Regions from separate parts of the Homo sapiens genome. Here all the other regions are linked to region 4. Evidence: promoter capture Hi-C in 16 types of primary human blood cells and fetal thymus (Javierre and others, 2016). All regions are on one chromosome and are shown on one strand. Each heading gives the region's core, a stretch centred on a gene start or on the middle of the fragment in contact. The rest is flanking DNA. Distances are from core to core; before and after follow the strand shown.

What was found. Contacts are between HindIII fragments. The CHiCAGO score rates a contact against its expected background, and 5 or more counts as called.
Region 1: the fragment with the promoter of TXLNA here is called in contact with the fragment with the promoter of ADGRB2 in region 4 in 7 of 17 cell types (fetal thymus, megakaryocytes, non-activated CD4 T cells and 4 more); the score reaches 11.5 in fetal thymus.
Region 2: a contact is called between a fragment that was not itself captured here and the fragment with the promoter of ADGRB2 in region 4, in 1 of 17 cell types (fetal thymus). The highest score is 6.5, in fetal thymus.
Region 3: a contact is called between a fragment that was not itself captured here and the fragment with the promoter of ADGRB2 in region 4, in 1 of 17 cell types (fetal thymus). The highest score is 5.0, in fetal thymus.

Annotation. Positions count from the first base shown.
Region 1 is chr1:32,177,668-32,180,934 of GRCh38, reverse strand. It overlaps TXLNA (taxilin alpha), which reads right to left and starts at 1,260. Exons shown (of 11, transcript NM_175852.4): 1 at 1,159-1,260; 2 at 421-621. The coding sequence starts at 589. RefSeq lists enhancers at 257-306, 317-476, 597-676, 564-1,322, 1,323-2,082 and silencers at 877-1,056, 1,197-1,386. The HindIII fragment of the contact is 3,390 bases long and covers 710-3,267 here.
Region 2 is chr1:32,020,933-32,023,892 of GRCh38, reverse strand. The region is part of intron 1 of KHDRBS1 (KH RNA binding domain containing, signal transduction associated 1); the gene reads right to left. Among named protein-coding and RNA genes, the nearest start is that of KHDRBS1, 8.5 kb to the right of the region's middle. The HindIII fragment of the contact is 1,679 bases long and covers 719-2,397 here.
Region 3 is chr1:32,063,176-32,066,114 of GRCh38, reverse strand. No RefSeq gene overlaps it. Among named protein-coding and RNA genes, the nearest start is that of TMEM39B, 8.3 kb to the left of the region's middle. RefSeq lists a silencer at 2,413-2,707. The HindIII fragment of the contact is 5,220 bases long and covers 1-2,939 here.
Region 4 is chr1:31,762,788-31,766,052 of GRCh38, reverse strand. It overlaps ADGRB2 (adhesion G protein-coupled receptor B2), which reads left to right and starts at 1,713. Exons shown (of 33, transcript NM_001364857.2): 1 at 1,713-2,169. RefSeq lists a silencer at 3,031-3,265 and an enhancer at 3,242-3,265. The HindIII fragment of the contact is 4,434 bases long and covers 1,157-3,265 here.

The DNA of each region.
Region 1 (3,267 bases), core at 11-2,510, 420 kb before region 4:
GTATGTAAAGCATCAGCACACAGGGATGGCACGGAGCAACTTCTAGTCCATCTCCTTCCCCCCCACAAAACCATTTCTTGCCATTCAGATCATTCTAGAAATGCCTCAAACAGGAAGGGCAGTTAGCTGCTGGTGGCTGAGGTGTTTCTAACGGGACCTGGATTTCCTGACTGGGTGCCTCGTTTGGCTGCCACCTGACTTAATCCCGTCGGAGCTTCTCTCCAGAACTCTGTTCCTGTGCTTAGAGGGGGCAGCTCCGCCAACTCGCCAGAGCGCAGGGGGGACCGCGGCCCCCAGCACTGTCCTCTCATTCTACATCTCCTCCTCCCGGACAACCTGGCCTCGGCCTGTAAGTCCAGAAGCGAGGCCGACCCCACAGCTCCTCCCCCTGCCCGCTGGCAACGCAGAGCTGGCACACACCCTCCGGCTTCCGAGGAGCCTGGCTGCTGCCGGGACCTTCTGCTTCTACTGCAGGAGCCGCCTGGCTGGGCCGCTCCTGGGCTCCCTCGGGTCCTGCTTCCGGTTGTCCTGGGCTGCTTTTTGGATTGGATTGTTTGGCAGCCCCGTTCTTTTTGTCTTGGTTCTTCATTGTGATGAGCGATGCTGGGTCAGGAGAAGATCCTTTAGAAACAAACACAGTTGCTATTTTCCAGACTTCGAAATTCTTCGCAGCCTGGATCAGAAATCCCCACAGCAGGCGCACAAAGCTTCTTAAAATAAACGGACCGGCAGGCCCGGGCGGAGGGCGCCAACGGCTCTCTGGTCTTGGCGGGTCAGGAGAGCCCGACGTGCCGGGGCAGGCTTTCGGGGCGCAGCTCCCACAGCGGGTGAGGGAAGAGGCCTCTTCTCCCTGGAGCCACTTCCCGGCACAACCGGCCCCCTCGCGGCAGGCCGGGCGCGGGATTGGCTCAGGGCCGGAGACTGACGTGGCGGGACTCCCGGCACCGCCCCCGCCCCTCAGGCCCCACGTGCGCCCCCCGCGCGCGCAGCCACCCACGCCCCGCGCGCCCTCAAGCCGCGAGGCACGCCCGCGCATGCGCATATCCCCAGACAGCCCCCGGCCCACGCGGGGAGTTGGCGTGATTTCCCCACAGGCCGAGAACATCCCGGCCCGCACACTCTCAAATAGTCTCGCCCACCGGCCGCCGCTGCACGTACCTCACCGCCGACGTCCGATGGCTTCCCCACCTCTGGCCTCGCACCGGAAACCCCGAGTAACTGCTGCCGGCCAGCCGCCTGCTCCCGCCTCAGCCAATCAATAGCCGGCGCCGGCGCGGAGCTTGCTGGGAAGGACGAAGCGAGGGCGGCCTCGGAGGCGGGCGCCCCGGCAGGGCGGGGCAGGGAAAAGACTACGCGTCCCTCTTTACGCAGGGGCTAGCCGCAGATCCCAAGGTGCATAAGGGACTGTAGTCCTGGGAGTCCAAAAGGAGCCCGTCATTCTGCACGAGTGCCCATGTCAACCTTGTTTCTATCTCGCAGAAGCTATGCTTCAACTCCCAAAGCCTTGCGCCTGGCTGTTGTTTCCTGCAGGCCTCCATCAAACCTTCCTCCCTGGCCGTGAACAAATGTGACTCCATCCGGGAACTCCGAGGACTCGGGAAGAGGGATAGAGTCCTGGGCTGAGACTCAGGAGACCCATACTCCAGTCCCAACTTCATCACGGATTTGCTGTGTGGCTGGACGTTCTGTTCTCTCTCTGGGCCTCAATGTCCTTCTTCCAAAGGAGGCTTTTAATAACAATAGCAGTTCCTTGAACGCTTACTGTGTGCTTTCCCGCTATCTAATAGCTTGGTTCTCATAACCACTCATAGAAATAACTACTATCTGTTATCCCCATTTTACGGAAAAGGACAGTAAGAGAAAGGTTAGGTAACTTATCCAAGGTCATATCGATAGTGAGTGGTTAAAACAGGGATTCAAAACTGGTAAGTCTGAGACCAGCACCCAGGTAATTACCTGGTCTTTCACCCAGAAGAAACACTACCACAGCAGGTTTCCCTGAGGCAGTCAAGGTAACTTGTGAAAGTAGGTCATATTTTCCCCTCTCCATTACCATTTTGGCAGTCAGTTCCTCAGAAAGGTGCTGAGTTAGGCTTCAGGCATATTCATGAGCCTTTTCTCTACCCCACACTCTACAAAGTCTCACTGGGGTTAAAGTAGAAAAAACCCCCACAGTTCCCTACACATGAGATCACAATTCTGTATCCCCATTGCTTCTGGATAATGAAATCAAACCCAACAATCCTTGTGCCTGGAATTTGAAGCCTAAGAGATTTGACTTTTGCCAAACCCAAAATTTTTTGAGGCCCAGTTCAAAGGTCACTTCAGAGCCTTCCCAGTGCTCTGCAAACCGTACTTGCTCCCTAGGTCTGCAGAGTTGTTACAGCATTAGCAGTGAGGTGTTGAAATTACTATTTACTTATAAGTCAGTTAATTTTGCAAGAACTGTTGGCTAAATAGTCTAGTCCCAGAGCCTCGCATCAGGCTGTGGGTAGAGAAGATTGTAAACTGTTGTGCTAATTGAGCGTTGGTTTAGGGCTGTTAGGATGTTAAATATTTCCCCCAAAGGCTCAGTGAAAGACTTCAGAGCCGTGCATGTTGGATTTCAGATTTTCAGATTGGGGAAGCTCAACCGGTAAAATTTGAGAAAATCCCAAATTGGAAACACTTCTGGTCCCAAGCATGTTGGATAAGAGATATTCAATTTTTAGTATAATGATGGAACTGAGGCTCAGAAAGGTTGGAATCTAGATGTCCTGAAACCAAGGCCCTGATTATTTCTAGAAAAGCATTCTGGAAATCTCTTGAGAAGGCACCATATAAATCAGGCCTTGATAGATTTCCATATAACAAGGGTGTTCTAGGTGAGATAAAGAACATAAAAATGTATGCATGGGGTGAGGGATAGAGGATGTAGTAGAAGGGTCAACAATAGCCTAGAGGGGCCAGTTGGGTAATGAGAACAGGCAAGAATAATTGACAGAAACATAGGTTAACAAGTTACTTTCTCCTTTGCTATAAACAATATATAGCAACAATATTAGCACCTGCCAGAGTGAGGGAGAGGTGGTGATTGCAGTAAAATACAGCAGCTCTTGCACATTGTTAGCAAGCAGAAACTCAGGCCGGGTAGGGCCAGATTGTATTTTTGTTTTTTAGACAGGTTTTACTCAGCTGCTGGGGCTGGAGTGCAGTGATCATAATAGCTCACTGCAGACTCGACCACCTGGACTCAAGTGATCCCCTTGCCCCAGCCTCCCAAGTAGC
Region 2 (2,960 bases), core at 309-2,808, 260 kb before region 4:
AGGAAGAGCTGACTTTTATAAAATTTTAAGTACAATTTATACCCTCAGACACTGGCATGTGGCCTAAAGGTAATAAAAGGGCTTTATGGGTGTCTCAGATGTTCAGTTGTCTGATGGTCTGGTCTTTCTTTTTTCTTTTTCAACTCTGTATGTCTCTCCTTGTCCTTGCTTTCCCCGGAGAGCTAGAGTAGACTGAAATGGGAAGACAAAAAATCAAGGAGGAGCTTCCTAAAAATGGTTTAACCTCAGGCAAAAGTACTTTCTAGACAACCCTTTTGGAACTGACTCCTTTAAGTAATCTTTGCTTGGGTCTCTGGAGACCTTGGATATCCCAAGGGCCAAAGAAAACAAAGCTGAGGTGTAAACAACACAAGAGGTGACCCATTTGTTTCCCAGCCACTCAGAATAATCATATCTTATCCAATGCCTTCTATGCGTCAGGAATTTTGTATTTATTATTTCACTTTGTCTTTGTAACCAGTATTATCTTCATTTGACAGATGAAGAAACCCGGGCTCAGAAAAGCTATATAACTTGTCCAAGATCTCAAAACTAATTAGTGACATAGCAGATACTTAAACCCAAGTCACTTCTTATACCAAAGAAAGTAAATTCAGTTAACCTTTCAAAATTTCCTTCATCTTTTACTATAACTTAACCTTTCCCACCCCCCACTTTTGTTTTTTTTGTAGATTTTATCCCAACCAGACTATAAGCTTCCACGTTGCTTAATATATCTTGGAGGAAAGACAAGGGTTTTGAAGCTAGACAAAGTGGGTTTGATTCCCAGCTCTCCTACATGCTTGGTGTATGACTTTAAAAGAGAATGTTAATAAGAAAAATAGTAAGAAAAAAAGAGAGAGGGCGAAAAAGAGATGTAACTCACACAAAAAAAGTTAATATTAGAGAAGTCTGGGAAAATTATATACCAACTTTATCAACTGGTCTGGCTTAACTAAAAAATCAATACAAATATATCATTAACTGAACTTTTTTTTTTTTTGAGACAGGGTCTTGCTCTGTCACCCACACTGGAGTGCAGTGGCGCAATTTTGGCTCACTGCAACCTCCGCCTCCCGGGTTCAAGCAATTCTCCTGTCTCAGCCTCCCGAGTAGCTGGTGACTATAGGCGCATGCCACCACACCTGGCTAATTTTTGTATTTTTAGTAGAGACGGGGTTTCACCGTGTTAGCTAGGATGGTCTCGATCTCCTGACCTTGTGATCCACCTGCCTCGGCCTCCCAAAGTGTTGGGATTACAAGCGTGAGCCACCGCGCCCGGCCAACTGAACGTTTGATATGGCCTGCATAAGGAACAAGACAATGGTCAAGATTTTCTAAGTATCCAGAGCGAGTATTTCTAGGAGAGCAAGATTCTCAGAACTGCTCTAAAAGGTCAGGGTTCATTTCATACCCTCCTCTAGACTCCCACTATACTTGGTTCTACACTTCTAAACACAGCACTCCTCCTTTGCCTGTTGTTAACAATCTCTGGACTCCTTCCATTGCTGAGTGTCTGTAATTCTTAGTACAGTACAATGCTTGATACACAACAGGCATCTATAATCATTAACCGAATTAAAAGAAATGTACCGGCTGGGGCGCGGTGGCTCACACCTGTAATCCCAGCACTTTGGGAGGCCAAGGTGGGCAGGAGATCGAGACTATCCTGGCCAACATGGTGAAACCCTGTTTCTACTATGGTGAAACCCTGTCTCTACTAAAGATTTAAAGATTTACTCTAGCTAAATCTAAAAACTGGTTGGGCGTGGTGGCGCGCTCCTGTAGTCTCAGCTACTCAGGAGGCTGAGAGAGGAGAATCGCTTGAACCCGGGAGGTGGAGGTTGTAGTGAGCCGAGATCATGCCACTGCACTCCAGTCTCCAGCCTGGGTGACAGAGCAAGACTCCATCTCCTTAAAAAAAAAAAAAAAAGAAATGTGCCGCTGGGTGTGGTGCCTCACGCCTATAATCCCAGCACTTTGGGAGGCTGAGGCAGGCAGATAACCTGAGGTCAGAAGTTCAAGACCAGCCTGGCCAACACAGTGAAACCTTGTCTCTACTAAAAATACAAAACTTAGCCAGGCGTGGTGCCGCCTGCCTGTCAAAAATTAGCCAGGTGTGGTGTCATGCGCCTGTAATCCCAGTTACTTGAGAGGCTGAGGCACAAGAATCGCTTGAACCCGGGAAGCAGAGGTTGCAGTGAGCCAAGATTGCGTTACTGCACTCCAGCCTGAGTGACATAGTGAGAACCTGTTTCAAAAAAAAACAAATACAAAAAAGTATGGTTAACACCCTCAACTTCCCTTAAACAACTCACATGACTTTATCATCCCCAAATTTATAATTCTCAACTTTTCTGTTGGTATCATCTTTTGGAATCAGAAGTCCCATAAGCTTACTATTGCAAAACAACTTCATTTGTTTTATTTATCAAATTACTTATTGTTTCAAGCAAGAGCACAAAGCCAATAGGTTCTTTATTTTTTTTGGAATCATGGGTCCCTCTGAGAATTTGATGGAAGCTACTGATTAGCAACCCAGAAAAAAATATAAACTCATAATATATTATATACAATATTGGCTATGGGTATAGAAAGGCTGGGTATTGGTTAAAAAAAAATCCCCCAAAGGCCTGTTACAAGCCCTTTCATATGGGCTCAATTTTTACATTCCAGGACAGTAGAAAACTCTGTCATATTGACTATGGTCTCCCAAATCTTTTCCTTAGTGCACAATTTAGAGCTTTGCAACTTTGAAAATTTTTTTTTTTAATTTTAAGGCAATTTTAGATTTATATGCAGTTCTAAGAAATAACAGAGATCCTGTATACTTTAGTTTTCCCCATAACATTTTGCATATCTGTATCACAATCAGAAAATTAACATTAAAATAAGAAAATTTGTTGTACAGGTTTCATGGAAAAAAAATTAACAATTGACTTTATTAGGATTTCACCACC
Region 3 (2,939 bases), core at 408-2,907, 300 kb before region 4:
TCCATCTCAAAAGAAAAAAAATTTTTTTTTTTTTTTTTTTTTTTTTTGTAGAGACAGGGTCTCACTATGTTACCCAGGCTGGTCTTCAACTCCTGGGCCCAAATGATCCTCCTGCCTGGGCTTCCCAAATCACTGGGTTTACAAAATGGAGCCACCACACCTGGCCCAAATCTGTCCTATAAATCAGCATTTTTTTTTTTTTTTGAGATGGACTTTTGCTCTTGTTGCCCAGGCTGGAGTGCAATGGCACGATCTCGGCTCACTGCAACCTCTGCCTTCCGGGTTCAGGCGATTCTCCTGTCTCAGTCTCCTGAGTAGCTGGAATTACAGGCGCCCACCACCATGCCTAATTTCCATATTTTTAGTAGAGTTGGGGTTTCGCCATGTTGGCCAGGCTGGTCTCGAATTCCTGAACCTCAGGTGATCCGCCCGCCTCGACCTTCCAAAGTGCTGGGATTACAGGCATGAGCCACTGCGCCTGGCCTTAAATCAGCAGTTTTCAGACCAGACTATGCAGACCTCTGGTGGTACACAGAAGTGATGAATCCACAGGATAAAACACAATGCAGCTTTCTGGAATGTCAGTTTTATTCAATGGAAATATAAGGCAGAATTTTCTTTTTCTTTTTTTTTTTTTGAGATGGAGTCTCGCTCTGTCGCCCAGGCTGGAGTGCAGTGGCGCAATCTCGCCTCATTGCAAGCTCCGCCTCCTGGGTTCACGCCATTCTCCTGCCTCAGCCTCCCGAGTAGCTGGGACTACAGGTGCCTGCCACCGGGCCTGGCTAATTTTTTGTATTTTTTAGTAGAGACGGGGTTTCACCACGTTAGCCAGGATGGTCTCGATCTCCTCACCTTGTAATCTGCCCACCTCGGCCTCCCAAAGTGCTGAGATTACAGGCGTGAGCCACCGCGCCCGGCCTGTAAGGCAGAATTTTCAACATCAAATCGCAGTCATTAAGAACACGTTCTCTGGAGCCAGACTTCCTAGCCCCATCACCTACTGGCTGTATGACATTAGCAAGTTACTTAACCTTTTTGGGTCTCAGTTTCCTCAAGCCTTATGGGTTTGAGAATCTATGTAAAGTATTTAGACTAGAACCTGACATACATTCAGTGCTATTGAAGCATTAGCTATTTTTATTAAAACATGGATATACTGTAAAGTACAAAGTAAACTAATGTGGGCTGGGCATGATGGCTCACGCCTGTAATCCCAGCACTTTGGGAGGCCAAGATGGGCAGATCACCTGAGGCCAGGACTTCAAGACCAGCCTGGCCAACATGGCAAAATCCCACCTCTACTAAAAACACAAAAATTAGGCAGGTGTGGTGTTGTGCACCTGTAATCCCAGCTACTCAGGAGGCTGAGGCATGAGAATCACTTGAACCCGGGAAGTGGAGGTTACAGTGAGCTGAGATTGTGCCACTGCACTCCAGCCTGGGAAACAGAGCGAGACCCTGTGTCAAAAACAAAAACAAGCCAGGCGCGGTGGTTCACACCTGTAATCCCAGCACTTTGGGAGGCTGAGGCGGGCGGATCACCTGAGGTCGGGAGTTTGAGAACAGCCTGACCAACATGGAGAAACCCCGTCTCTACCAAAAATACAAAATTAGCCGGGCATGTTGGCACATGCCTGTAATCCCAGCTACTCAGGAGGCTGAGGCAGGAGAATCGCTTGAACCCGGGAGGCAGAGGCTGTGGTGAGCCGAGATCGTCCCATTGCACTCCAGCCTGGGCAACAAGAGCAAAACTCCATCTCAAACAAACAAAACAAACTAATGTGAATTTAAGATTGAAGGCTTTGAAAAAAATGTCACCTGCAGCCCGGTCCCAGCCCACCAGGGATTTGCTTTCACCTTCTCTTGCCAGCAAGAATACTTACATCTGATTTTCAATACCAGAGAATCCAGGTGTCTTCATGTTCTTCCAGTTTCCTGGGCCATTCTCACTCCATGTATACATTAGTCTCCCCACACAACCTCCCACCTGTCAGGCAATCCCCCTACCCCCATTCTTATCCAGACATTTGTCTTCCCACATCTTATATTACAAATATATGTAAACTATAGAAAACCCAGAAAATGTCACATTTCTTTAGTTTAAAAAGAGATAAGATTTTGGCAGGTAATGTATTTAAGGTAATTAAGATAGAGAGAACTGTAAAGTAGGCTATGTTCCAGAAGGGTGAGTCTAGTTTGGCTTGAGAATAACTGAAGATGAGGTTGGAAAAATAGGTTCAATTCAGATCACTTGATGATCCTGAATGTTACACACAGTAAAGAATTTGGACTTGATTTCAACTCTCTAAGCCTGTTTCATCTGTACAATTAGGAAAATTACTATGTTGTGAGGATTAATGGAGAGAAGCAAACACATGGGAGAGATATCCTGTGACAAATGGAGCAGATGTTATTAGGAGTTGGAGACACAGATTCTTTTCCTTAGTGTAAACTATCCCCACCTCTCAGGGTGGCCTGAAATTCAGTCTCTCATTTATCTTATTTTTCTGTAATGCACATCTTAACCACCAGAGAGAGCCTGATACAAAGGAATCTCAACTCCAAGTACAACAGAGAAATTAAGCTGGGCATAAGATGTGGAATCCTGGATACAACTGCAGCGATTCTCAATGGTAGGGTAGGGAATGGATCCCAGTGCCTCCTCTATGGGCCTTCTTAGACCCATCCCAAGGAGAGGGGGTGGGGCATGCTGCCACAACCTAGAATTTAGCAGCTAGCCAGATGTAAGGTCACCAGGAAAGAGGTGAGGTGGGTAAGGATGAGGGCCAGATCTAGTTTAGGGACCTGAATTTCTGTATCTCAAGCAAAAGAGACTCTCAACTCTGCTCATAAGCCACCAGGCCCAACTCCTTCCTGGGCTACCCCATGGCAGGCCAGGTCATCTAGCTGGCCCGGGAACTTTAGAAAATTTCTAAAGA
Region 4 (3,265 bases), core at 464-2,963:
ATTCCCCCTCCCAGTGCCCATGTAAGGAGGGGGCCCGGATTTCCCACTGCCCTGGGGTGGCTTTCAACATACTTTGCAGCTGGCAAGGCCTGCCTGGCCTGGCTTTCACATAGTAGCTGAGCCTTGAAATCCAGAGATGTCTGACTGTGTTTGAGGGTGCCTAGCAAACCCTAGGAGCCTTGCTTGCCAGTGCTAGGCCCAAGGCACAGGCCTCCTTGGGCATCCGCAGCGAAAGGGAAGGTGCCGGCCCAGCCCTCCTCCCTGCCTCATAAGGCCTCATAAATTCTCTTAAGGTGACAGGTGAGATTCCTTCATCGTCCCTTATTACCTCCTTCCATTAAAGTTGATAATCTCTCACAATCACTCACAACAAATGTCACCGAGGCTGCTGGAGGTGGGAGGGACAGAAGGAGGGAAAAGAGGGCGGTTCTATGCCTCTTCCTGGTACTGCCCCTGGGAAGAGGTAGGCTTTTCTCTTCTTGCCCCATCTTGAGGGTGCCACAACTTAAGGGGCATCAGTGGAGAGGTGGGGTTGGTATTTGCTGAAATGAGGACTTCTTTGCACTGAAAATTTGGCCCTTCCTGGCTAGTGAACCTTCAAAAAGTATGGTCCTGAAACCATCCCACCCTCATCGCAAAGCTGAAACCATCCCACCCTTATTGCAAAGCTGCCCCCTGCTGGTTTCTCCTCTGACCAAAGCCATGGGATTAACCTACTTGTGTTGGCTGCAATGGTGCGTCCCTGGTCGGCCTACCTTACTGATGGCAACATGCCCAGGCCACAAACTGCCTGACCAGAGCCCTGAACCATGGGCATCTCCCTGTGTACCGCCTGAACCATGAGGGCTCAGGCCCCACCCAACTGTTTCTGGGCTTAGTGCCAAGATGGGGAAGGGGTGGGTCTGTACATCTCTGCTGCTTCTACACAAACAGATGCAACATGGGGGCGCCCCTGGCACAGGGAAAGGCACTTGTGGGAATAGACAGGGACTCAGGAAAACATGTAACACACTGCACACGTGTAGCATCCCCGTGCCTAAGGACGTGCAACATTGCAGTTTACAGTATGCATCAAACATGTCACATTGCAGTATACATATGTGGCTGCTACATGAGTTACCCACAGTCCTCAGCACACATGTGGCACCTGTAAGCTTGCATACATATAACATCCCTGCGCACAGGAACAAGCAACATGCATTCAGGACTTGGGCACATGTTAATACACCGTGCATGTGTGTGGCACTTGCATGCACCTACCCAGGCAACATGGCAGTGCACACTTAGGGCACCTGTATGCATATGCAAAGTTCAGCGCACATGACTGGCACCTGCATGCACAGGGACATGCAATATGCAATGCACATGGGAAGGTGAGCAAATGCTTCAGCCTGCAGGGCCCGGGACACCCTGGCGGCGCGACAAGCCTCCGGCATGGGTATAGCTGGAGGGGCGTCGCGGATCGCCTCATTCTGCGGTCCAAGAAGCAGCGGGCTGGGCGGGGGCTTACCCAGGGCTTCTCCCGCGCCGGCGCCTGGGGCCCAAGGCGGGGAGGTGGGGGGCACGATCGGCTCGGCTGGCGCTGTTCCCCCTTTAACAGGAGGCGGCGCGCGTCGCCCCCGCCCCTTCTCCCGCGGCTCCTCGCGCCCGGCCCGGCGCGCGCCCCCTCCCGGGCCCGGCCCGCGCAGGCGCCGCGTCCCGCCTCGGCCGTCACTCGGCCCGGCGCGCGCTGCGGGCAGCGGCCGGAGCGGCCGGAGGAACCGGGTTCGGCGGCAGCGGCGGCGGCGCTCAGAGACCGAAGAGGATGCGGCACCGGCTCTCAGAGCCCGGGGCTGCGGCCGCCGCCCGCAAATAGGAGGCGGCGCGCGGCGCGGGCGGTGCTCGGGGCGGGGGAGCGGGGGAGCGGGGGGCGGCGCGGCAAGGAGGCGGCGGCGGCGGCGGCGGCAGGAGCCCGCGCCCGGCCCGGCGCCGCCCGCCCGCCCGCCCCGCGCTGCTCCGCGGCGCCTTTTCTGCACCCGCCGCCCGGGAGAGCGGGAGCCTCGGCCCTCCGCGCGGCTGCAGCTACCTACCCTGCGCCCGGCCCGGTCCCCGACTTAGGGATGGCAAACTTGCGCCCCGTGGCCGCCCCCGCCAGCGCCGGCCCCCGCTCCTGCTGCTGACGGCGCCCAGGTGAGTGCTCGGCCCCAGACCCCGACCTGGCCTCGCACCGAGCCCTGCCGGCGCGGTCCCGAGTTTCCGCACCGGCCCGGACTCGGGGCGCTCTCCTAACCCGTCTCTGCTGAATTCTCCCCCAGCCCGAACTGAGTTCGTTCAGCGTTCGCCCACCCCCATCTTCTGGGGAACTCCCAAACCTAGGGCCGAGGCCCCCTTAATCGCTGGTGAATCTCTAATCTCGGCCCCCCCCCTCCCCCAGCCTGGACCGACCCTCTTACCCATCTATGCTAAAGTCTCCCCCTCCAGAATTCTGACACAGACCGTGCTTGCTGTCTCGAGTCTTTCCCTATCTCGGCCTGGATCCGGGCAGTGTGCCCCCCACCTTTATTAGAGCCCCCCCATTAACCTGCAGCTCAACTGTGTCTCCCCCTCTATTTCCCGTCACGGTCTGAATGCCGGACCCTGCTCCTCTCCTCCACTTCATCACTGCCCGGAGTCTTTCCTGTCCCCATCCATGTCTGCCCATAGTTTCTACCCTCCCCCGCGCCTGTACCCCGACCATGCTTCTTCTCTATTTCTGCCCCTAGCGCCCCCTCCCCCATATCTATCTGACCGGAGTCCCGCCTTCCCTCGCCAATCTTGCTGCAAGTCCCCTCCCCTCAGCTTGGAATTGGGGCCGTGTCCCCCGTGTCTGCTCCGCGCCCCCTCCCCTCCAGCTGAGATCCCGACTGGACCCGCATCCCTGACTCCCGTGTCCATCTTTGGCCGGAGTCTATCTGTCCATCCCCCATCCCTATCCTCCCACCCCTGGTCATAGAGCTGGGCACCAGACGCACCCTCCCGCAGCCCCAGGGCCGGCATGATCCGGAGGGGGTTGTAGGCTGTGAAGTTGGCGGCCACTCCCGCAGTCAGCTTGGTCCGAGGGCACAGCCGGGGGAAGTCCTCCGCGCCGCGGCCCGTGCAGAGCAGGCGACGGGTCTGTTGCCCGCCGGGGGGAGGGGCGCCCGGGCCGAGAGATGCCGCCTGCCTGCCCGCCTCGCCAGCTGCCGGCCGGGCTCCTGGGCGTCCTCTGGCGCCCCCTGCCCGAAGCCTGGGACCCGCCACCCCTTCT